Linked DNA regions of Homo sapiens: regions 2, 3, 4 and 5 are each linked to region 1. Evidence: promoter capture Hi-C in 16 types of primary human blood cells and fetal thymus (Javierre and others, 2016). All regions are on one chromosome and are shown on one strand. Each heading gives the region's core, a stretch centred on a gene start or on the middle of the fragment in contact. The rest is flanking DNA. Distances are from core to core; before and after follow the strand shown. Region 1 holds the start of ERP44 (endoplasmic reticulum protein 44). Region 2 has its middle 57 kb from the start of TGFBR1. Region 3 holds the start of LOC105376174 (a long non-coding RNA gene). Region 4 has its middle 19 kb from the start of ALG2. Region 5 has its middle 25 kb from the start of SEC61B.

Region 1 (5,141 bases), core at 1,067-3,566:
TTAGAGGAGGCCATTTAAGGAAAAAATGATGACCTCAGCTAAATGGGAACTTGGCTTTTCTTTATCTGTATGTAAGAAGGAATAAACTTGAGGTCTGAGAGAGAAAGTTGGAAGAGTAGGAAAAAAGTACACGGGGGAACAAAGAGGACAAATTATTAGACAGCGAGAATACTGAGTAAGTAGGTTCCATCAGTAGGAGAGAATTACCAGTTAAGTAAGCAACTCAAAGTTGCGATTAGACAGGATAGATGTTTTATAAATATTTGCTAACTAGCATATGAGTATTAAAACTAGGTAAACACTGTATTCCAATTAAATCTAGTTTGACTTGTAATTCTAGTTTAAACCTTTTCTGGGGCTTTTTCAGCCTTTTCATATCTACAGGTATTCTCTAACATATTTTCCAGATTTTTATGCCTTTACATTTGCTTAGAAAGATAATTATACAAAATGCTTAGATTTTAGTTAAATCTAGATTCTATTTGGGAAAAAACTCATATTTAACAAGATTAGGTTTTTCTATAAAAAGCATGAGTTATTCCAAAATAAATTATTTCTTCTTCATAACTTAGCTTTACAACCAAACCATACCATTTGAGGAAAGTGCATCTGATATAGTTTGCCTGTTCAGTGTCTCAACTTTTCTTTACAATATCTTAAGATTTTTGCCCTTTTTTTTTGATTTCCTAAAAGTGCACACAATTCATAACTCAAGCCATTTTGTGGATAAGATTAGTATCCAGTCTTCTTAAGGAGAGAGTGGTCTCTAATAATGGTATTATTCTAACACTTCTAGAAGGAAAAATGTATCACAGTGTATAATGAAATCACCAAGAAACAACACTATACAGAATATTTTCCTCGATACAGAAGTCATTCACTGTTGTATACTTATAAGAAGTGGCAATAAGACACTCTATCATTTAATATTACAATGTTTATACACAACTTTTTGTTCTCAAAAGTACTTTGACATGCCATTTAGTTTTTTACAGTGCTTTTTCCGAAAAGGTCCAAGTGACAAAAGAAAAGAAAGAACTATTTCAAACACAAATATTAAACATTTAATGGGATATGGCGGAATAAGCACTGGAAGTCAAGAGACTTGTTTCTAATCCCAGCTCTGCCTGTAACTAGCTGTGTGACTTCATATGCGTCACTAAATCGTTTCTTAAATTGTAAAGAAAGTAGTTCTTAATGTTTAAATCTGAATTTCTAAAAATCTACTACAATTAAGGTACTTTCAAATATTACATTATAATTAACAGCCCAATTAAATATAAGCCATTTTGCCATACGTGTTTAGTCCTTCGCTTTTGTCTCAATTTGACCTGAAGCCTGGATCAATTAGTCTGCACACTCAAGACGTACTCTGGGGCAAGAGGGACTAGGGAAAGATTCTTTTAAGATGGGATGATGCTGAGCAGGTTAGGCAGTTAGGAATGAATGCATATTCAAATAAGGCGCAATGAAGAAGAAATCTGCTTCCATGGGGAAATACGTTGCAATAAGATTTGAGGGAGGCCTTGAGCTGAGATTGTCAGGTAACCACACCTTCCACCCTTCAAACTCTATTCTCCCAGTGGAATCCAAACCAGTCTCCAGTTCCGGGTTCCCAACCAATCGCATCAAGCCACAACAGAGGGATCTGCCAACCCGGGCACCGCTTCAGGGATCTAGACCCAGTGAGAGTCACACAACCCCAGCACCTGTCGACCTCACACTCTTCCCAAATGGAGAGGGTGGGAAGGAACGCTAGGTCTATGCTTGGTCTTTTCCGATTCAAGCTACCACCAGGTCCACTAGCCCTCGAAACCGAAACCCCCGGACTTCGGGGAGAAGGGGAAGCTCCTACGCCGTGACTACGTATCAGTCCCTCAGGGCTAATTCTCCCATTCTCCCCCGACACTGGTTTCTCAGGCCTCGGGGACTCCGCGCCTGGAAGCCGACAGGCGAGAGTGAGGGCAGCGGGGGAGGGTGCACTCCAAAACACTGCAGGAAAAGACGGAAAAGCAGGGGCAGGAGTAGCAGTGTTCCCCCTGGGCGAGGGCCGGAGGCCGTTCGTGCGTTTGTCGATGGGTCTGTCATTCCCTCACTCACCAGGAGCAGAAGGGAGCATCTGAGGTCGGGTAAGGATAGGAAGACGGCAGGATGCATGGTAACGCTGGGGTCCGTGACAGGGACAGGCGCTGGCGGCTGGGACTGGGCTAGGTTGGGTTGGGTTAGGAAAGGGCTGGGCTCCGGGAGCCGACGGCAGCGGAGGATTCTCCAGGCAGCGGCACCTCGTCCTCTCGACCCGGGCTCCAGCGGCGAACACCCGGGACAACTTCCAGAGAGGCCTCTCACACCCTCACTTCCGGGTCCTGCCCACCTCGGTGCACTTCGGGAAATGTAGTCCTGCACTAGCCTCACCCCGCACGTCGTCCGTCATCTAGAACTTCCTTTCCCATTGGGCTCTCGGCCCCGGTCCACTGAGTCCTCTGCGCGCGGGGTCCTGTGGGATAGAAGGGCGGAGGGCGGGTGTACGCGGTGCTTCAGAGGATGGGAACTACAATTCCCAGAAGGATGTGCGGCCGAAAGCCTCGGGCGGCCTTTTGAGGGGCTCGGCTAGCTTCAGCGCCGTGGGGTCTGACCTGGCTGGATATAGTGTACCGGCCCGGCAGGAGGGGCGGCCCGGTCCGGGTTGCGCCTCCTGGAGCCGCCCCCGGGACGTCAGTCCTGGAGGAGGCGAGGGTGAGTAGGAGGGGGCCTGGCTGGGGAGGCTCAGATCATTCGGTCCGCACCGCCTTGGCCCCTGCTGCAGACTCACGGCCTTCCTGGCCTAGGCTGTGGCCTGAGCCTCCATCATTGGCCTCCTCGCCCGCTGCCTCTTCTTTCTGCTCTAATTCCTGCATTATAAAGTCAGAGCCACCACTCGGGGCCTCAGTTGAATGAGTCAATGACTTATCCCTGATTGTCTCTGAGGGCTCCTGTAAGGAGTAGATGTGGTACGGGATGGGATAGCACGTCGTAAACTGGAAAACTGTGTGAGTGATTGCTGCTAAGGCGTGGATCGCTCCTCCAGTATAATTACGAAATTCCCTAGCAAAGCAGTCGAGGATCCTAACTTGGCCCCAGGTAGCTCTGCGGCTTCTTCTGCAAACACTCAGTGAGGTCCAGGAGCCCACGCGATCTCTGCTTAGTACCCAGGAGGCACACTGTGCTTTTGTGGTTCTCCCTGCTCCCGCCTTTGCTTCAGCTTTCCTGCTGCCTGGAATGGCCTTACCCGTTCTCTCTCTGGAATGCTATCTTAAATGTCACCATCTCTGAGAACTTCCCGAACAACCAACCCTTTAGTCCTAATCAGAATTACTCTTCCTATGAGTGTGACTGCAGTACCTCTAGTTTTGTACGGTTATAATTATTAGAGCATTTATTACACGGGCTTGTTGTATAATTAGGCAAGGATGATGACACCTTTGCATTTTATAGCACTTTATCAAAGTGGTTTTGACTTTTTTCTATAAAAAATGATTTATTTTCTTAAAGGGGCAAAAAATACATTTTTTCTTAAGAAAAAAAAAGAGCCCTGCATAATGGCTTTCTCAGGGTGACAAAATTAGACAGTGATAGAGCCAATACTCTTACCAAGGCGGCCTAACTCCTAGACTAGTGCTCCTATCTCTTGTCCACGCCCCTGACAGAGCCCAAAGATAGTTGAAATGGGAAATTTTAAAAGAGCAGAGACTTGTAAGTATGAACTCATTATTCAAGAAATTAAACTTTGATCCTGCTCACTTTTTGGACTTAGCACTCAGCCTGTGACCTTTCATCCAACAAACATCTACTGAGTACTGGCTATATACCTGTTACTGTGCTAAGTGCTAAGAATTATGAAGTAAAAAGTATATATATATAATATATATAATATATGTACATATAATATATATAATATATGTATATATAATATATATATTATATATGTATATATAATATATATATTATATATGTACATATAATATATATATTATATATGTACATATAATATATATATTATATGTACATATAATATATATATTATATGTACATATAATATATATAATATATGTATATATAATATATATTATATATATAATATATGTATATATAATATATATAATATATGTATATATAATATATATATAATATATGTATATATAATATATATATTATATATGTATATATAATATATATTATATATGTATATATATTATATGTATATATATAATATATATAATATATATACATATATATTATATATATAATATATATTATATATATAATATATATGTATATATAATATATATATTATATGTATATATATTATATATATTATATATGTGTATATATAATTTATATATGTATAATATATACACACACACACATATATATAAAACAGAGATCACATTTTTAGTGTATTTTTCAAAGGGTATAAAGAACTTTTTTTGTGGTTCTGATGTGCCTAAAACTCTGATCACTTAGAATGAAAAATGACAGGTCTTAGAGTTTAGAACAGTGCCTAGCACATAGTTGTCACTCAGCTTGTTGAATGAACGAATGTGAACATGGTCTAACCTTATTATTTTTTGCATTTTACAGAAACCTAGAAAGCTGACATAGCCTGAGGACACACTGCTGATTATAAATACAACTGGGCCTAGAACCCAAGTGCAGTTACTCCCCTCCCATGTTTTCACCTCCACCTCTATTTTGTAGCTTCTCTCAAATAACCTTAATATAATCCTGGATATGACAGTAGTTCTTCTGACATGACTGTTAGACTCAGACATGACTGAAGTGTCTCACAACACCCTCTTCCTCCATATTTTCTGCCAGTCCTTAACTCAAATTGTCAGCAAAATAAAGACGTAAGGAGCTGTGCTTTACCATAATTAAGAAAGTATTAATATGTTCTCTCAAGGGCAGAATTTGAACCAATAATCCTTGTCGATGACAAGACAAATACCAGCTCATCCGTTATAAATTTATCTTAGAAAACTCTCAGATCCCCAGGAGTAACAGCGATTGGCGTGACCTGCTTTTTGGTGAAATCAGAAAAGGACTTGCCTACCCTCATGGCAGCAATTAACTGGAGCTGATTAACAGCTGCTCCCTTTAGATAA
Region 2 (5,141 bases), core at 1,553-4,052, 940 kb before region 1:
CTTGCAGTTACGACCTTCTACTGGTGACAGAATGTTTCAAAGCTTGATTTTGGTGATGGATTCAGAACTCCGTAAATTTACTAAACATTGTGCACATGAAATGGGGAAATTTTATGGTGTGTAAACTATATCTCAATACGTCTGTTAAAGGAAAAAAAAGTAAAACTCGCCTTTGCCAGTTTTTGTTGTTGTTGTTTGTTTTTTGTTTTTTCTTTAAACAGGGACTCTCTGTCACCCAGGCTGGAGAGCAGTGGTGCGATCACAGCTCCGGGCAACCTCGACTTTCCCGGGTTCAAGTGATTCTCGCCCATCAGCATCTCGAGTAGCTGGGACTACAGGCACCAGCCAGCACCCCAGGCTAATTTTTGTATTTTTTAGTAGATACGGGGTTTCAGCGTGTAGCCCAGGCTAGTCTCGAACTCCTGAGCTCAGGTGATCCGTCCGCGTCAGCCTCCCAAAGTGCTGGGATTACAGGCGTGAGCCACTGCACCGGGTCTCACCTTACCATTCTTGCCACCCACCATACTTCCTTCATCTGTCCGCCATGCTGCATGTCCCGACGCACCCTGCTTCCTGCCTTTCTGCTAGGCTCCGCCCTTCGCTGGAACTGCATTTTTCCCTCTCCTCTGCCTTGCTAACTTGAATCAACCCCAAGGCTCAGGTCGGAAGGCATTTCCTCCACTATTGTTGCGCATCCTGCCTGCTGGCAAATCATTGATCCCCTGCTGCATTTCCAAATCACTTACCTCATTTCATTGCACATCGTTCCTGTTTTAATCCCCTTAGGGAGTTAGGACTCTTGCTCTCCCTCTCTTCCCTTGAGAGAAGCAGACGGTTTCTGTGTATTTTCCTGTCCAAGCACCTAACGTGAAAATTAACAAAATAGTTTGAGTGCTTATTTTTGGTGCTAACTCTGCTGGGTCCTTGGATGCTCCGGGAGTCTGGCATGTTTGGGGTGCTTTGTCAAAATTTTTAGGGGTCTTCCCTAAATGGCTCCCACCACACTCTGTTTCCAATGCCGCATCATTTCGTACACATGCCTCCCTCTAAGCCCTTGTATTAATTTTACGTCTCTGTGTTGTTCCAAGGCTTGCTGCTGCAACTAGCTATGAATGCCTGGAGAACAGGGACTCTGTCTGATTCATTTCTGTGAAGCTCTTGCCTAGTCCAGGGCTTGGCTCAGAGCACGCACTAAGAGGAGCTTGTTGAATGAACGAATATTCAATTAAAGGAATCCCAAATGAATATGAACCAATCTAACAGAATGTCGCTATGGAGATGGATATTTACTTCATCAATAAGGAGAGTCCTTCATCCTGGGGCTCCCCAAATGCAAGGCCTACAAGTTTTTTTATAAAGGGATTTCTTACTGCCCCACCAATTTCTGGCCTCCCCTTGCTATTCCGTTTATTTATTCCATCAACTACTTCCATTTTTTTTATTGGTTTATATTTTTCTCATATTTGATGGCATTCTTTTTAAAACAATGAGCTCTCCTTAGTCAGAACCCAGCACCTTTTAGTAAGATGGAAGTTTGGGATCTTCTGATTTGAATTACGTAAAGTGAAAGAATATTTTTACATTCTTGATACTTATTCTCAATTTTGCATTCTCTTTATGGCACATTGACTGTATAATAAATCCTGTACATATTATTCATCTCTTTATATTTCTTTTCTTGTACTGTTCTCCCAAATGAAAACCAGAATTCTTATTCACAGCAATTTAGACCAGCCCAGCTTATGAGCAGAGTGATACAGGTCATTTTGGAAGTCTTTCCAGCTCTATTATTTTGTGATTCTCATATAGTTCTTACTTTTTTTTTTAACCAATGATTGAATGAAATCTGTTTTGATCATATTGGGATGTTCATATTTTCAACCTTTATTCATTTGTTTATTCTCTCAAGTTCCTTTTTATGTGATTTTTAAAAACATTTCAACTTTTATTTTAGATTCAGGGTGTACATGTGCAGATTTTTTTACATGGTTATATTGCATGATGCTGAGGTTTGGGGTATGATTGATTCTGTCACTCAGGTAGTGAGCATAGACCCAATGCATAGTTTTTCAGCCCCTGTTCCCTCCTACCTGCCCCGTGCAGCAGTCCCCAGTGTCGGTTGTTCCCATTTTTGTGTCCATGTGTACCCCGTGTTTAGCTTATAAAGTGAGAACATGCCATATTTGGTTTTCTGTTTCTGTGTTAGTTCGCTTAGGTTAATGGCCTCCAGCTGCATCCATGTTGCTGCGAAGAACATGATTTTGGTTTTTTATGATCGTATAGTATTCCATGGTGTATATGTACCACATTTTCTTTATCCAATCCACCGTGGATGGGCACCTAGGTTGATTCCATGTCTTTGCTATTGTGAATAGTGCTGCAATAAACATGTGAGCATCTTTTTGATAGAACAATGTATTTTCCCTTGGGTATCTGAGTAATGGAACTGCTGGGTTGAATGGTAGTTCTGTTTTAAGCTCTTTGAGAAACCTCCAAACTGCTTTCCACAGTGGTGGAACTTTATATTTCCAGCAGCAGTGTGCAAGGATTCCCTTTTCTCTGCAGCCTCCCCACCATCTATTATTTTTTGACTTTTAATAAGAGCCATTCTGACTGGTGTGAGATGGTGTCTCATTGTCAACCTTTAAAAATGAACAAGAGTTTGGTTCATCAGATCGCATTGCCTATGTTTTTTGTTTGTTTATTTGTTTGTTTGTTTTTGAGACAGAGTTTCACTCTTTCACCCAGGCCAGAGTACAGTGGTGAGATCTCGGCTCACTGCAACTTCTGCCTTCCAGGTTAAAGTGATTCTCCTGCCTCAGCCTCCTGAGTAGCTGGGATTACAGGCGCCTGCCACCACGCCCGGCTAATTTTTGTATTTTTAGTAGAGATGGGGTTTCACCATGTTGGCCAGGCTGGTCTCGAACTCCTGACCTTGTGATCCGCCCGCCTCGGCCTCCTAAACTGCTGGGATTACAGGCGTGAGCCACCACGCCCGGCCACTGCCTACCTTTTTAAAGAATGTGTCCTAAGCATGGTTAAGTTTGATACAGACATTCGGTGCTTGCCAAATACAGGCTGAGTTTAGGATGGCTCACCAAATATATAGCTTGATTCCTCCTGGACTATCTCATGCCATGGCTATGTTTGAGTCATTCCAAAAGCCAGTCGAATGGGATCTGTGACTCTGGGTGGAAGGGGCCCTGCATAGTACTTAACATAGAGTGGGCATCAATAAGTATTTGGTTGAATACACGAGTGCATGCAGATAATCTAACTGTAATCTAACTTCCTCAGAAATGCTGATGTTCTTCTGTAACTTCCAGGATGGAGGGTCACAGTGCTTCTCTATTGACATATATTCAGTGAGCAGGGTGCCTTCACTGTTTTCACAGAACATTATCTTATTTTTGGAAAGTAACAATTAAAACATTCTTTCTAGCAGAGTGACATATGTTGGCCCATATCTCCTCCCCACTCGTCTGCCAGGGTCCCACACTCCCAGCCTTTGTCCTGTAGCACAGCAAGTAAGAAACTGAGACCAAGTCCCTTTGGGTAGGCTCTTTACTAGGCTGAACAGAGTCTGTTTCTTAAACTGTCACTCATACCTTCCCAAGCATCCCTCAGTATGCTCCTGATTCCTTACTTCTATGGCTAAGAATCCGTGTGCCTGGTGGAAGATAACCCAGATTTCAGGTCTGTGCAGATCTCAAAATATCTCAAAATCTGTTTAAAAATCACAATTTAAAAAAAACTCAACTTAGCCTGTTCTCCAATAAATCCTCAATAGGTGGCAGTGTTGATCTTTCTTTGGTCTCTGGTCTGCGGGAGTGTTTTGGTTTGTTTGTTTTGTTTTCATATTAGAAAAGAGTTGAGGTTTCTACCTAGTTTTAGATTGAGTTCTACTAAATGTAGTTCTCAATCAGACTATTTTTCTTGAGGCCATACCAAAATCAATGACTGTTTTTCTTGAGGCCTTACCAAAAGCAATATCTCCTACGCCAGCTAAAAATGTGGTAAATCTTCAAGCTAGTATTCTATTATTTAACATTTTTAATTATAACAATTATTCATGGTTGTAAAGTTTCAAAAGCTACAGAAGTGTAGAAAGTAAAAAGTGAATGAAAGTTTTCCAGGTGTTTTGCTATGCACATAAAAATGCATATAGTTATAAAACATATAGATATATAACATTTATATATATAAATAGAGAACAATATGGATAATATGACTCTATATAAAAATGTTATATATCTGTATGTTTATATATAAATGTTATACATCTGTCATGTTTATATATGTAAATGTTATATATCTGTATGTTTATATATAACTGTTATTTATCTGTATGCTCATATATATGGCACATATATATATGAGGTCATATTAACCATGTTAGTCTGCAGCTTACATTTGCTTCTTTACATAGTGTTTGTTCTTCCACGTCAATATATATGATCACCATTCTTCCCACTTTCATGGCTTATAACAAAACTTTTACATTCTTTTTTTTCTTTTCCTTTTTTGAGACAGGGTCTCACTCTGTTGCCAGGCTGGAGTGCAGTGGCACAATCTCGGCTCACTGCACCCTCCGCCTCCCAGGCTCAAGCAATTCTCCTGCCTCAGCCTCCCGAGTAGCTGATTACAGGAGCCCACCACCACGCCGGGCTAATTTTTGTATTTTTAGTAGAGACAGGGTTTCACCATGTTGGCCAGGCTGGTCTTGAACTCCTGACCTCAAATGATCCACCCATCTCGGCCTCCCATAACATTTACATTCTGTTCTGGAACTACAGCCAAGTCTTCTAGGCTTGAATACTTAAACCAAATAAAAATAGCATTTACCATATTGTGGTTATACAAATATTAATCACTGCAGAAAAAAGTGTGATAAAATCTATAGAGAAAGAAAGAATATTCCATGTATTTAATACCAGCCACACAGCTGTCAACATTCAAATCTTGGTCTTTTAATGTAGTTTTTACTTTCCTCACTTTTATTCAGGTATCATTGTTTTTTATTTGCTTCAGTCTCATTTTTTTGAAATCTCATTCTTTCATTCCCTTTGTTTTGCACAAGTACTTCCGTGAGTAATTTTTACATTCGAGTGCACACGTGATAAACTTTCCTTGCATTGCTG
Region 3 (5,141 bases), core at 1,694-4,193, 910 kb before region 1:
AATGGTCCTGGCTTGGCATGAAGGTCTTCAGGGTTCTCGGTGGGTATATGGCTCCCATATCTGCCACTAGCCTCTGCTTGGCATAGTCCTGGGTTGGAGATCAGGCCCAATATTTCAGTTGTAGGTTACTGCATCCTCATGCTTCCTCATCCATGCACGTAGTGCAAATCTGTGTAGGAAAAATACAACCTAGTAATTAATTAATTCATTAGACATTAGATCAACAAATGTCTTTAAAACACTAGGTTTTTCCTCACACCAGTGGCATGTTGACCTCAGAATGAAGAAGCTAATGCCGAGTGTGTGCATTAGAAAGATCGATTTTTATGTAAAATGCAACTCGGATCTGTCTTTGTGATACACCATTCCAGGAGGAGATGACCTCAAGACAAGCAGCTTCCATGCAATACTGCAGCAAGGGCTTACTTTCCTGAGCATTTCCCACGCTCCAATCACTGCTCTAATTCCTTTAGATGTGTTAACTCACTTCCTGCTCACAATACTTCTATGAGGTGAGTGCTATGGTTATCTCCCTTTTTTAAGGTACTATGCAGATAGTGCCAGAGCTGATAAGTGTCAGAGCAAGAATTCAGGCTCAAGCAGTCTGGCTTCAGGGCCCAGGCTCTGGACCACTCTTCCATCCCGTTGCAGCAGTGGTTGAGTGGATTATGTGGTGGGAACAGCCTACCCAGTGCTCAGAACCCAGAAATGATCAGAAAGACTCACCGTGGTGCTCATGGGTTTTCAGCAGTCATCTCTGTTCATGTTCCCAAACCATGCCAATCAATATTCTTTGCTGCTATTGGGTAGATGAGGAAATGGAGGGACCAAGATAACTGCCCCAGAGCCAACCCCAGGTCCAGCGGACTCTTTCCTCCTCAGAGGCTTGCCCCAGGAGAGACCAGCTGAACAGGCATTGCCTGGGACTCCTTGGGGAAGTGGAGGTTGGAAAAGTAAGTGAAGGAACAAGCACTGGGGGGGGGGTCAGTGTTCAGTTCATCCCTTGCTATGGCCCCATCCTCAAACCTGTCACAAAGCCCTGCCAGCCAGGGCACCCACAAAGCCCACCTTCTCCAGAGGGGCCTGAATCTCTTGTTGGGCTTGGTGTGGGTTTCGGAGGCGATGACTGGGCTGAAGTGACCTCTCTCATTCAACAGACTCAGCCACTCAGGGCTGGGCCTGGCCTGACTCTAGGAGCACAAGATGCAGCCTCTGTCCTCAGAGATTCAAAGGTTGAGCAGACATTGGCCACAGTCCCGGCTGGCTCCGACCGTGGCAGAGGCTGAACCAGAGCAGAGGAGGAAGCAGAGGGGTGGGCCGCAAGCTCTTCTTGGAGTCTCAGGAGCTGCAGAGAGCAAGCTGGGCTTCCTGGAGGAGGAGGCGTGAGAGTTGGGCCTTGAAGTAAGGTTTCAGTGAAAGCGGAGGTGCGGGGTGGGTGGGGTGGGTGTTGAGGGGGTGTGAACACTCATGCGCGGCCTCATGAGCACTGGAGCAGCGCTGGCGGCTAGTGATTTTTCAGACAAATGCCTGCCAAAGCCTCTGACATAAATCAATTTTTCACTTCATTCCTTCTGACTCAACCCCTCCGTCAGGCACTCAGCAGCTGTTTCCTGAGCTGATGTACATCTCATTAGTCTATCAAGCTCCAACAGCCAAGGCCAAGGCCCCCAGAATGAAAAACTGACGCAGCCACCCCTTCCTGTGCCAGAGACAGGAGAAGGGAGGGAGACTGACGGCCTTTGTTCTCTGAGCAAGACCGTAAAGCACTTCGCCTACAGGCCACAAGAGGGCGATGGTGGTCCACACATAAGATCTTCCCAAAGAGCCAGCCAAAAACGCCTGCCTGGAGAATCTGGAGGTTGTGAAAGGTGACTTTGTTAAGGAAGGGCGATGGCCCTTCTCCCTGCCCCAGAGCTCTGAAAGCCTTTAAAGTGGCTTTAGCAGCGTGGTTTAAGAATGGCTCCTTCGGTACAAGGACGGCCATCACTGCTTCTCCTACTGTGTTTGATGCCAGCGTTCTTCCCGTCTGCAGGGAAGGACGGAGAGTGAGGAGGGCACACAGGACGTAGCTGGCTCCTGGCCATGGACGGTGACCGCTCTGGGGCCAGCAGGGTAGAGCTGCCTTCCTACATCTGAGAACTCAAGGGCGAGAGGGAGGCAGGGCAGGGGAGAGGGTTGGTCTCAGTTCACAGGGCGACCCTCTGGCCCTGGTTCTGACGGCGACTCGCTGTGTAAGCTAAGGAGTGTCTCGCTCTGTACAGCGGGCAGGTGGTGGGTCTCTGCACGTCCAGCATCTCCAGCTTTCCGTCCTCTGAGCTGTTTTGACATGGGAGGCGCTGGCAGGGAGAGAGGGGTCACTGATGTGGGAAGCTGGTGCAGAGCTGGGGAGTAGCTTGTGATGCTGGAGAACCTGGAGATGCCCCTCCCATTCCTTGGGCCTCGACTGTCTCATCTGTGGAATGGGCGGGTCAGACTGGATAATCTCTAACCATTGCTTCCCTTCACTTCTGTCCCAATAAACACACACGGAGCTTTTTCGTTTGTCTTTTGTCTTTTTTTTTTTTTTTTTTTTTTTTTTAGAGACGAGGTCTCACTATGTTGTTCCCCAGGTCTGAGTACAGTGGCTGATCCCACTATTGTCCAGCACAGGAGCTCTGACTTGCTCCATTTCCTACCTGGGCCTGCTCACCCTCCCTTAGGCAACCCGGTGGTCCCCCTCTCCAGAGAGGCCACCATATTAATGCCAAACTTAGCGCAGACACCTGATCGGCATAGTGCACTAAAGCCCAGAACTCCTGGGCCCAAGTGATCCTCCTGCCTTCTGAGTAGCTGGGATGACAGGTGGGTGCCACCACTGTGCCTGGCACAGAGCCTATATTGGTGCTAATACTTCTGATTCTGATTCCATTAAAAAACAAAATAAAACATGTTGCCCTTTGGCTGTTTCTGACCTCCATAGTGCCCCCAAAGTGTCCCAACTGGATAGTGGTTGGAGACCATTACTGTGAATGCACATGTGGCCCTTCTCCACACAGTGCATCTGAGGGAAAATGACAGAACACTCAATCCAATTAGAGGAGGCCAGCACAGGCTGGCAGTGAGGAGCAGGCACGAGGCTGCGTTCCCTGTGCTGGCTCCTGGGCCCATATGCTAAGCTCTGCCTTCAGTTCCTGCAGGAGCTGTCCCTTGTTCAGCCTCAGATGTCCTAGCCTCCAGCCGATGGAGGCTGTGTTAGCTCTATGGTGGCACATGGGCCTTTTGTGGCTCCCATGGCGCATTAATACTTTATGTGGCCCATATTTCTTCAGCTGCATCTTCCAACGCTCCCATTGATTTTTAAATTTCAGTGCAAATACAAAGCAAAACTGAAGTTTATGGAGTGTAGGAGAATCCATCTGAAAATTCCCTAGGGTGGCACCAGAGATTGTAACATTAGATGCACTAAGAAAGAAACAACTGCAGCACATTGCTTGGCTCTGCAGTAAATAATATTTATATAGTCATAGAATTGCAGAGCATAAGAGAGCTGATTATGGTTACTGAAATGTATGGGAGAGTTAGCAAACCTAACAAAAAATAAAAAAAGGTTTGGGGTGGGGAAAAGTAGAACTGAAAGAAGTCAGGAACCAAAGCTGGAGGAAAGATAGAAGGCAAAGAAGCTGCTAGTAACAGTAACAATTGCATCTTACAAAATGAGGAGTCCGGAAATGATGCCTAACATTGATAGAACAAGAAAAAGAGGTTTAACTATTTTATGTCTAGCTGCAAAGGTAACTATGTTAGTCATTAGTGCCACTTGCCAAGATATTTCTGGTTCTCCTTTGTTCTGGATAATTCCTGACCCTCTCTGGTTAGATGGGGCCATGAGATTAGTTCTGGTAACTGAGTTGTGAACCAAAGTGATGGGAATCACTTCCAGGGCTAGCATTTCATTACCAGTGGGATCAATCTTTCTTCTAGAAGGCGACTGGCATTATGTGAGATGGTGGCTCTTCCATCAGCCTTGGGTTTTGAATAATTACAGTGTACAGATTATGCCTCTTCCTGTCCCCCATGGACCTGTAATAGACAAGTCCCATGAGTGAGAAACAAACCTTTCTTGATAGAAGCCATTGGGATTTGGGGTTGTCTGTCATTGCAGCATTACCTGCTGTATCCTGAACTAGCACATAATATAACTTTACTAAAAGGACAGGAGAGGAAGTGGTCGGGGTTATAGGCGAGCTAAGTCTTCAACTATTAGAACATAAAATAAATAGGTAATACAGAATTGTTAATCCAAGAAATAGCAAAATTAACATATTATTTGAGATGTAAAATTGTCTAAAGTGGTTACCACTGGGGAGGGGGACTAGGGATGGAACAAAGGAATTTTGCTTTGTCATAAACCCTTCTCTAGTATTTGGCTTTTGAAATTAAAGTTTGTTAGTTTTTGAAATAGACTAAGTAGGTACAAAAGAGGATACAGGAAGTCAGTCTATTTCTCACTTCTGTTTTCCAATTTGGAGGCAACGCCTTGCCAGTTTCTTAGGTATTCTTACAGGAGCAGTCTAAGAATACAAAAACATAAACAGGCTTACATGCCTTTACTTTCAAGTAGCATTGTATCTTGGACATCATTCCTAACCACTTATTTAAAGCTGCTTTTGCTTAAAAATAGCGGGATAGTATCCCATCGTATGGGTATACTATCACTTAGCTGGTCCGCTATTATGCGACATTTGTTTCTCATTTTTAATGTTATTAACAATGCTCTGTGAATATCTTTGTAAGATGTCATGTTACGCATGGATGAGCCTATCAAAAGGCTAACATCCTGAAAGTGAAATTCCTGGGTATGTGTATAATACATACACCTTTTGAGAAAGTGTACAAACTGCCTACACAAGTTGTATCAATGTTCATTCCCACCAGTACTGGAGAAAGTACCCTGAGCTAGTGTCTCACCTATAAGGTCTATTGATTTGATTTTAATAGGAGTTAAAGTGGTGGGGATTTATTTTCTAAATTACTTCCTGAATTATCCATTGAAATGAATGAAAACAAGACTGTAATACTGCACTGGCATGAAGAGTTTTAAATTAAATCTCACATTCTTCAAATCTCTTTGGCGCTCACTCTTTGCTTCATTTACCCAGCAA
Region 4 (5,141 bases), core at 1,264-3,763, 900 kb before region 1:
TGGTCTCTATCCTGAAGGAGCAAAGATGTGTTCCCACAACCCGGGGAAGCATCTCATAGACCTCTGGGGGAGCAGATTGTCCAGAACAGAGAACCCATGAAACAAGAAAACCTTTCTTTCTCTTTCTGTTATTCGTGGCCTCTCATAGCATTACTTAGGTGTGTTATTAGGATAATTTAAGCCCCATCCACAGACATACGCGTGGAAAGGAAGAAAGGTGTTGAATGGAGACAGAGACCCCCACCCTGCCACATGGGGGACTGTGAGGACTGACTGCAAGGCAGGGTGAGACTCAGCCATGCCACGGCCATGCCACAGTACTACAGAGCATAGCTTTTCCAAGATCCAATCATTCATGATCGCAAGATTTCATTTGCCTTGAAACATTAAGTTCTTCAACTTTCTCTATTATTATTATTGTTGTTTTTAAATCAGAATATTAGAATACTTTGAAAAATCACCCAGTGCGCCCTGAAAGGTATTCTAAATACCATTCTCAATAATCCCTGTGGCTCTTATCGTGGGGAATCTGAAGTTTGAAGTGACATCTCTCATCAATTCTGCCCCTGGGGATAAAGTGGGAGACTGACAGCTGATCACTTCTTGCCTTTGATAAGCCTTTCTTATTCTAATTACACCTTTCCTTAAAGTAACTTTTCCAGCTTCCCACCCTCACCCTGCCCCTTATATCCCTGTTTAAAAGGAGCGTATTCAGATAGCTTGTGAATAATGATGCCTCAGGATGGTTTAATGGGGAAAAAGGAAACCTGTAGAGAGCCTTATCTTGAGTGAGTGTCTCAAGCATCCAAGATTATCTCCCTGTCACCCTGTGACCCATCTTCTTCATGCCACCTTTTAATTTTGGTAGCAATTACAGTGTATATGGATAATGCCCATTAGCATATTCATGGTCATCTCTTCATATTTATTGTCCGCACAACTCATTAATCTTCATCTACTTTGTGTGCTTGACAGCTCAATCTATTTTGCAATCTCTGGGAAGCAGCCATGGCCCCCCAAAGCCTTTGTTTTCCTGTAAATAAACTGTGTTGGGGACCAGGGGACAATGATGCATCCTGTGGTGATTGACACCAGCCACGGCTACTAATCAGGATGGGACTTCATTGCCAGCTGAGTCGAGTGCATTATGGGGCCATTGTTCCAATGCTGCCAGGGCAAGAACACACACAGCCAGTCACCTTCACAAGATGGGTTGATTGTTCTTCAAGATTAGACCGAGTTGCCTTATTATCCATCCCAGACAACAAGGCATCTCACCCAAACAGACGCATTTGCAGGAACAGCCAGCACACCGGCCAGATTTGAATTGCTAATGTATAATCTGCCCGGCACAGATGTGCAATGAATATTTGGATGTTGTTTTGCCCGTCAGTTGAGGAGGATGAATTGATGAGGTGATGAGTATTCAATGATGGGTCCTGGATGTTGGCCAACAGCAGAGGTTGAGCACTTGCATGGATGATCATCAGATTACCCCCCAAAGTGCCTGTGCCATAATTCAGCAGCAAATTCTAGGACAGTCTAGCAGAGTGTACTTCTGGTTGGTGGAAAGTTCCCTTTCTTTTCTGGTACAATTAGATGTTTCGCTGTGTTTTTCAGGCTTAGGAAAGATATAGAAGTTGCCTTTATTGCCCTTCCCTGCCAACTCTTAAGGATATGAATAATGGTTCAGGAGCTAACTACTTGGGTTTCAATTTAGCTTCAGCATTTTCTAGCTCATTTTCTTAAGTTATTTGTGCCTCTGTTTCCTCATTTGTTAAAACAGATTGAAAAATTCTACCACCCATCTAGAACTATTGTGAGGATTAAATCAGATAATGTACACAGACTAAGTGCTAGAACAGTGCCTAGTGCATAGTACATGCTGAAAAGATGTTACCTGTTACTGTATTGTTGGTCATTTGCTTTCTCTCAGTATTACTGTGGTCAAGTAGCTTGGATACACTGGAAATAAAATTAATCCATTTTCATTACCTCAGGAGAGCTCATGGCCTATAGTATGCTACTTTCCCTGGTACATTTCTGATAGAAAATGTACCTTTCCTATAGGAATGGAAGTTTTCCTATAGTTATATAACCATGGAGCCCTTTTTCCTGAAGCATTTTTTACAGCTTATTTTCCTTGGAACATATTATAGGAAAAGCAGCTCTAGAAGGTAAACATTTACAAAGTTTTGAAAGAAAAACATGTGACTCAAGAATTTTATATATAATCAAGCTATTTATATGCAAGACAATGGGAATTATACAAATGCATATATTCTCTCTGAAAAAATGTTATTCAAAGATGTGTTCCATAGAAAGGGAACAATGAATCTAAGGTAGAAACCAGTGAGACCAGTTGATTGTACTGAAGTAAGTCCAAACAACTGCGGCAAATATATTATCAAACTTGAAATAAAAAAATTAAAATATTTGAAAGAAATTATTTATATTGAAATAATGGGATAATGAAATACATCAATGAATAGCAGAAGAATGAAGAAAATCAGAAGGGAAAGCAAGTGTCCTTTTTAAGAAAAAAAAGGATGGTACAAAGAATATATACACATATACACATATATATTATGTATATATGTATTACACTTGTGTGTGTAGATACATACAGTGTACACATATACAGGTGTGTATATATGTGTGTGTACATATATACAGGTCTGTATATATGTGTATATATATGTGTGTGTGAGTATATATGTGTGTATATATATGTGTGTGTGTATATACACACACAGGTGTAATAAGAGCAACCTCAGTAATCTTTAATAAAATATTAAAAACCAATACTATAAGAAAAAACACTAAATCTAAGATTTCTCTATTTATTAGACAAACCAAAAAATATTCAAAATTAAAATATGGGTAAAATATGATTATTTAACGTGAACAAAGAGAAAGTCAGGTCTGAGGATATTAGTATTGAACAATGCAGAATTATGTAAGTCAAAGAGTATTAAACTGCTAATTTCATTTCTTTATCTTCAGTGCTATGCACAGGGTAGGTCCTAAATATATATGAGTAAGATTTATTGTGGAAGTAGAAGCAACGAGTGAAAGGTATGTGAGAAGGCATGATTTGCCTGCAAGGACCTCTTGAGGGTAAGTTTAAAAATAAATTTATTGACACACAATATTTGTACATATTGACAGTGTAACATGACATTTTGTTGCATGCATACAATGTGTAATGATCAAGTCAGGGTATTTGGGGTATTCACCATCTTGAGTATTTACCATTTCTTGGTGTTGGGAACATTTCAGGTTATCTTCTAGCTAATTTGAAATATACAATACATTGTTGTTAACTATAATCACCCTACTCTGCTATTGAACATTAGAACTTATTTCTTCAATCTAACTGTATATTTGTATCCATTAACCAACCTCTCTTCAACCCTCCGACCCCCTCCCAGCCTCTGGTAACTATTTTTCTACTTTATCTCCATGAGATCAATTTTCTTTTCTTTTCTTTTCTTTTTTTTTTTTTTGAGACCGAGTCTCGCTCTGTTGCCCAGGCTGGAGTGCAATGGCAGGATCTCGGCTCACTGCAACCTCCGCCTCCTGGGTTCAAGCGATTCTCTTGCCTCAGCCTCCTGAGCAGCTGGGATTATAGGCACCCGCCACCACGCCCGGCTAATTTTTTTGTATTTTTAGTAGAGACGGGGTTTCACCATGTTGGACAGGCTGGTCTCAAACTCGTGACCTCAGGTGATCCACCCACCTCGACCGCCCAAAGTGCTGTGATTACAGGTGTGAGCCAGCCCACCCAGCTGAGATCAACTTTTTTAGTGCCCACATATAAGTGAGAACGTATTTGTCTGTCTATGCCTGGCTTATTTCACCTAACATAATGACTTCCAGTTCCATCCATGTTGCTGCAAATGACAGGACTTCATGCTTTTTTATGGCTGAATAGTATGTCATTTTGAATATATACACCACATTTTCTTCATCCATTCATCTGTTAATGGACATGTTTCAAAGACTTCATATCTTTGCTATTATGGATAGTTCTGCAATAAACAAGGGGGTGCATGTATTCCTTTGACATACTGAGTTCCTTTCCTTTATTTATTTATTTATTTTTGGGGGGACAGAGTCTTGATCTGTTGCCCAGGCTGGAGTGCAGTTGAGCCATCTTGGCTCACTGCAACCTCCACCTCCTGGGTTCAAGTGATTCTCCTGTCTCAGCCTCCGGAGTAGCTGGGACTATAGGTGCATGCCACCAAGCCCAGCTAACTTTTTTATTTTTAGTTGAGACGGGGTTTCACCATGTTGGTCAGGCTGGTCTCGAACTCCTGACCTCAGGTGATCCACCGGCCTCAGCCTCCCAAAGTGCTGGGATTACAGGCATGAGCCACTGAGCCTGGCCCAGATTTCCTTTCCTTTGGATAAATAGCCAGTAGTGGGATTGCTGGATTGTATGGTATCTCTATTTTTATTTTTATTATTATTTTAAAAAATCTCCATACTGTTTTCCATAATACTTGTACTAATTTATATTCCCACCAACAGTGTATGAGTTCCCTTACTCTGCATCCTCGCCGGCATCTACTTTTTTTTCTTTCTTTTTCTGTTTTTTTTTGTTTGTTTGTTTTGTTTTTTGAGATGGAGTCTTGCTCTCGTTGCCCCGGCTGGAGTGCAATGGCAGGATCTCGGCTCACTGCAACCTCTGCCTCTTCAGTTCAAGTGATTCTCCTGCTTTGGCTTACCGAGTAGCTGGGATTACAGGTGCCTGCCACCATGCCTGGATAATTTTTGTATTTTTGGTAGAGATAGGGTTTCGCCATGTTGGCCAGGCTGGTCTTGAACTCCTGACCTGGTGATCCACCTGCCTCGGCCTCAAAAAGTGCTGGGATTACAGGTGTGAGCCACCACGCCTGGCCAATTTTTTTTTTCTTTTTGTCTTTTTAGTAACAGTCATTCTAAATGAGGTAAAATGTTGAAGTGCTCAACATCACTAATGAGCTATGATTAGTGATATTGAGCGTATTTTTATATACCTGTTGGCTATTTGTATGTCTTTTGGGAAATGTCGGATTTTTTTTTTTTTTTTTTTACTGTTGAGTTGTTTGAGTTCCTTGTATATTCTGGATATTAGTCCCTTGTCAGATGAGTAG
Region 5 (5,141 bases), core at 920-3,419, 850 kb before region 1:
TTGCATAGCCAGGGATGCATTTTTTAATTAAAACTAAGAGGCCATGCCATTGCTGAAGGGTGGGGAACTGGAGCAGAAGAAATGTCTCTGTCCTTCATCTGCTGTCTTCACTAACAGTCTCTGAAAGTGGAAGGGGCAGTAAAGAAATTTACTTTCCCACTGTTGTGAAATTTACCACCCTCCTTATAAGGCAGAAGTGGTTACAGTTGCTTTTTATTTTCCTGTTACTATACCCAAGGATTGTTGTGAGAATCAGAAGACAGATATGAGAAATCATGTTGTGAACTATAAAATGCTATTAAATGACAGAAATGATTGTTTGTCATTATTATGAGTGTTGTCATGTCTCCCAAAGCTGCCTGCTCAGTTGAAGAAAAGTGTTTTCTGATAGAGAGTAAGACTGAGAACCAAAGAGAAAAGGAGAGAGGGAGATAGAGAGAGGAGGGGGAAGAAGAGCGATAGAGAAAGAAAAAGAGAAAGAGAGAAAGACAGAGAAAGGAAATAGACTGATAAGGAAGGGTGGGAGGAGAGAGAGGGACAGAGAGAAAGGAAATAGAGTGAGGAGAAGGGGAGAAGGAGAGAGAAGGGGAAGGGAGACTGGGAAGAAGGAAGGGAGGGAGAGAGAGAGGGACAGAGAGAAGAGGGGAAAAGAAAGAGGGGAGAGAGGAGAAAAGACAGAAGGGAAGAGCGTGGAGGTCTTTTTTCTATCAAAAGCAGAACAGAAATACATTGACATAATTGAAACCCATGACTGACCACAAGCATACATACAACTCTGGTAGACAGCTTCAAGGTACTTAGGTTTCTCTGACCATTTAAAAGTATCTTCCTCATTTCCAAAGCGGTATATGCATACTGAAGACTATGAGAAACATATGAAAAGGCACAGGGGAGTTTTTTTTTAACTGCTTTGTTGATGTATAGCTGACATAGAATAAACTGCACATATTTAAAGAGTATAACTTGATACATTTTAATGAAAGTATACACTGCAAAACCATCATTATAATCAACGTATCTATCATCCCCAACAGTTTCCCTGGGCTCCTTTGAAAGCCCTGCCCCCGGGCACCCACTGGTCTGCTTTCTCCCACTCTAGGTTAGGTTGCATTTTCTGGAAATTTATACAAATGGAATATCAAATTCCATATATAATGTATGTAATCTTTTTTTTGGCCTGGCTTTTTTCATATAGCAGTATAATAATTAATGATATAGACCCAGCAGAGTTTGAGATATTCAATTAATTCATTAATTGAATTAATTCAGATATTCAGGTATTGAGATTAGTTAATATTGTCATATTTGCTTCAGCTTTCCTCGTTTTTTTGAGTAATGTGATCTATACGAAGAGAAAATGTTTTTAAAAAATACATCTTAATGCATTGTAATTACACAAATTACATTATAATTAAGGAAACCCCTGTGTAACCACCACTCAGGCCAGGAAAGGGAGCTTTGCAAGCACCCCTAACCTCCCAGTGTCCCCTCCCCAGGTCATCACCAGCCTCCCTTTTGTGAGAATCATTTTCTTGCTTTTCTTTTTGATTTTACGATGTATGTATGCATCGCAGTATGATAGAGTGGACTTAGCTGTTTGTGAATTTTATATGAATGAAATCACACTGTATGTCTTCTTCGTGACTTGCATTTTTTGCTTTGTTTGTGAGATTCACCCCTGTTGTACCATGTAGCTATGTTTTATTCATTTTAATAGCTATAGAGTATTCCGTTGTATAAATATACTGCAGTGTGGCATAGCCCACTCTGGAGAGAGAGCTTTTAAATGTGATCAATACAGTTTGGCTTTTCGTTAACACTTGTAGCCATCAGACAGTCCTTACAGGATAGAAACAACGAAAACATCTACCCTTCCCCTGGATGCCAGTACCCCCGCCCCACCCTACTGTGTGTCCACAAAAAGTTAATACTATAAATATTTACAGATGTCAATCATAAGTATTTATAGGAATATCTTCTGCCCTGGTATAGTCTTCTTTTTGAAGAAGCAAGCACACAGTTGATTTTTTTCAAAAATCAAAAACTTTTTTTTGTTTTTTCGAGACGTAGTCTCGCTCTGTCGCCCAGGCTTGAGTGCCGTGTCGTGATCTCCGCTCACTGCAAGCTCCGCCTCCCGGGTTCACGCCATTCCCCTGCCTCAGCCTCCTAAGTAGCTGGGACTACAGGCGCCCGTCACTACGCCCGGCTAATTTTTAAAATATTTTTAGTAGAGACGGGGTTTCACCATGTAAGCCAGGATGGGAACTTTTTTTTTTTTTTTTGCATCATGTCGGTCTGAACACAGCTAGTTAAATTTTCTGTGGGAAACAGGAAAAAGAGGAAGAGGTTGGACATTCCCTTTCAAGAGGCTGCTCTTCCACTTCCACTGTTTTTCTCAGGCCCTCAATCCAGAGGTTCCTAGACGCCATTATTCACATTCTTCTTTAAAAGATGCTCTCACAGCATAAGAAGTCAAAACCTAGCTCTCAACCCCATCAAAAAGTGGGCAAAGGACATGAACAGACACTTCTCAAAAGAAGACATTTGTGCAGCCAAAAAACACATGAAAAAATGCTCACCATCACTGGCCATCAGAGAAATGCAAATCAAAACCACAATGAGACACCATCTCACACCAGTTAGAATGGCAATCATTAAAAAGTCAGGAAACAACAGGTGCTGGAGAGGATGTGGAGAAATAGGAACACTTTTACACTGTTGGTGGGACTGTAAACTAGTTCAACCTTTGTGGAAGTCAGTGTGGCGATTCCTCAGGGATCTAGAACTAGAAATACCATTTGACCCAGCCATCCCATTACTGGGTATATACCCAAAGGACTATAAATCATGCTGCTATAAAGACACATGCACACGTATGTTTATTGCGTCACTATTCACAATAGCAAAGACTTGGAACCAACCCAAATGTCCAACAATGATAGACTGGATTAAGAAAATGTGGCACATATACACCATGGAATACTATGCAGCCATAAAAAATGATGAGTTCATGTCCTTTGTAGGGACATGGATGAAATTGGAAATCATCATTCTCAGTAAACTATCGCAAGAACAAAAAACCAAACACCGCATATTCTCACTCATAGGTGGGAATTGACCAATGAGAACACATGGACACAGGAAGGGGAACATCACACTCTGGGGACTGTTGTGGGGTGGGGGGAGGAGGGAGGGATAGCATTAGGTGATATACCTAATGTAAATGACAAGTTAATGGGTGCAGCACACCAGCATGGCACATGTATACATATGTAACTAACCTGCACATTGTGCATATGTACCCTAAAACTTAAAGTATAATAATAAAAAAAAGTTTATTTCTAAAAAAAAATAAAAAATAAAAAAAACCTAGCTCTATGTTTCTTCATATAGAAGAAGCATTATAATAAAAGTAATTTAAGTCAGTGCTTGCTGTCTGACTTTTATTTTTCAAAAGGGTTCAGTGTATTATTCAAATGTCAAGAATAATGATTTTGACCTTGGCCTGCGGGCAGGTGGACCACACTGTCTCTCCCCAGCCCTTTCTTCAGAATCTCTGTTAATTCTATAACACCTTCCGTGTCTGCTGTCATTGTGGTTTACAGGCACCTTGTCACATGGTGAATAATTGGATCGCCATTCAGTGAAGTAGAGAAATAATTTTAATCCCAGTTGTACAGATGAGATAATCGGAGCATAAAGAATGTGGGCTTTTCAAGGTCACACATCAAGAAAGTCACGAAGCCCGTTTCCATTTCTCGGTCTAGGTAAATATGAAGCCCACATTTCCATGTTCCTTCCTCTCCCTGAAGGGGAGGTCCAGCCATTGATTTTTTGTTTACATTGGGGTACACTGGTACTACTCTTTGGGTATTTGGGGGCAAGTGAAAACACCATTAAGAGAGAAGAGCCTTTTGAATCTCAGAGGAGTCAATAAGAAAATGGGCTTTTCAGGAGGTGGGAAGAAGAGGCAGAGTTGGGAAAGTAGGCTCTTTTTCTGTGAGCAGGGATATATATTTGTTCCTCAATCAGCATGCACACCGGGTCCCATCACTCTCTGCCTTCCATGCTTTCACAGCTCTTTTCCTTGATATTCCAATTCTGTGGTATTTGTTTTTTTCATTCTTTTGATATTCAGTAGTCATCATTCTATTACAAAGGAGAACTTTCTCTCTCTTCCACCTATTTATGTTTTCATTTATTAATTTATGTGACTAGAGTCTCATGGAACCTGATTTATTCCATGGGTTTTGATGATCACTTGGAAACCCCTTTATGCTGGCTCCTGTGACTTTCTGGCATGTTCCCATGATTCTTTGAGCATATTCTTACTTTGGGCTACAAAAACGAGTGCTGAGCTCATTGTGTACTTTCACTGCCTCAGCCTCAAATTCATAGTATTTTAGAAAAGGTAGTTGAAGGTTTGAAGGCTTGAGCCATAGTAGAAGTCAAAGAGGAACATAATTTCTCCTAAAGATATAACTCTTCTTGGCCTTCAAATGAAGGGATTAAGAGGACAATGCCCATCTTGATTATATGTGCCTGCAGTTCAGCCCAAGGATAAACAAATCTGTTTGTCTTAAATTTCTTATGACAGTTTTATAGAAGATAATTTTAAACTGAGCTTCAGATGATACCAGATGGGAAATGGAAGATCACGTTCATAGGATGGGGTCATGCATGGAATGAACTGACTTCATTTCTAATAGTGACCCCTGCCCATGGAAAGGGTCTATGGAATGGACTGCCTTCATTTCTAAGAGTGAGCCCTGCCCACAGAAGGGGTCTATGGAATGGACTGCCTTCATTTCTAAGAGTGACCCCTGCCCACGGAAGGGGTCTATGGAATGGACTGCCTTCATTTCTAAGAGTGACCCCTGCCCACGGAAGGGGTCTATGGAATGGACTGCCTTCATTTCTAAGAGTGACCTCTGCCCATGAAAAGGGTCTGTGGAATGGACTGCCTTCATTTCTAAGAGTGACCCCTGCCCATGAAAAGGGTCTGTGGAATGGACTGTCTTCATTTCTAACAGTGACCCCTGCCCATAGAAAGGGGTCCATGGAATGAGCTGCCTTCATTTCTAACAGTGACCCCTGCCCATGGAAAGGGGTCTATGGAATGGAATGCCTTCATTTCTAAC

Evidence for each region. Contacts are between HindIII fragments. The CHiCAGO score rates a contact against its expected background, and 5 or more counts as called.
Region 2: a contact is called between a fragment that was not itself captured here and the fragment with the promoter of ERP44 in region 1, in 1 of 17 cell types (fetal thymus). The highest score is 7.6, in fetal thymus.
Region 3: a contact is called between a fragment that was not itself captured here and the fragment with the promoter of ERP44 in region 1, in 1 of 17 cell types (monocytes). The highest score is 5.8, in monocytes.
Region 4: a fragment that was not itself captured here is called in contact with the fragment with the promoter of ERP44 in region 1 in 1 of 17 cell types (M2 macrophages); the score reaches 5.6 in M2 macrophages.
Region 5: a contact is called between a fragment that was not itself captured here and the fragment with the promoter of ERP44 in region 1, in 2 of 17 cell types (M1 macrophages and M2 macrophages). The highest score is 5.8, in M1 macrophages.

The regions. Positions count from the first base shown.
Region 1 is chr9:100,096,684-100,101,824 of GRCh38, forward strand. It overlaps ERP44 (endoplasmic reticulum protein 44), which reads right to left and starts at 2,317. Exons shown (of 12, transcript NM_015051.3): 1 at 2,101-2,317. The coding sequence starts at 2,157. It overlaps INVS (inversin), which reads left to right and starts at 2,560. Exons shown (of 17, transcript NM_014425.5): 1 at 2,560-2,733. RefSeq lists enhancers at 2,164-2,233, 2,244-2,383 and a silencer at 2,624-2,833. The HindIII fragment of the contact is 16,824 bases long and covers 1-5,141 here.
Region 2 is chr9:99,159,196-99,164,336 of GRCh38, forward strand. No RefSeq gene overlaps it. Among named protein-coding and RNA genes, the nearest start is that of TGFBR1, 57 kb to the left of the region's middle. The HindIII fragment of the contact is 5,524 bases long and covers 41-5,141 here.
Region 3 is chr9:99,183,002-99,188,142 of GRCh38, forward strand. It overlaps LOC105376174 (a long non-coding RNA gene), which reads left to right and starts at 1,322. Exons shown (of 2, transcript XR_930169.3): 1 at 1,322-1,401; 2 at 1,593-2,535. It also overlaps the pseudogene RN7SL794P. RefSeq lists an enhancer at 1,701-1,910 and a silencer at 4,455-4,574. The HindIII fragment of the contact is 6,133 bases long and covers 1-5,141 here.
Region 4 is chr9:99,200,429-99,205,569 of GRCh38, forward strand. No RefSeq gene overlaps it. Among named protein-coding and RNA genes, the nearest start is that of ALG2, 19 kb to the right of the region's middle. RefSeq lists an enhancer at 2,838-3,007. The HindIII fragment of the contact is 5,389 bases long and covers 1-5,141 here.
Region 5 is chr9:99,244,340-99,249,480 of GRCh38, forward strand. No RefSeq gene overlaps it. Among named protein-coding and RNA genes, the nearest start is that of SEC61B, 25 kb to the left of the region's middle. The HindIII fragment of the contact is 6,907 bases long and covers 1-5,141 here.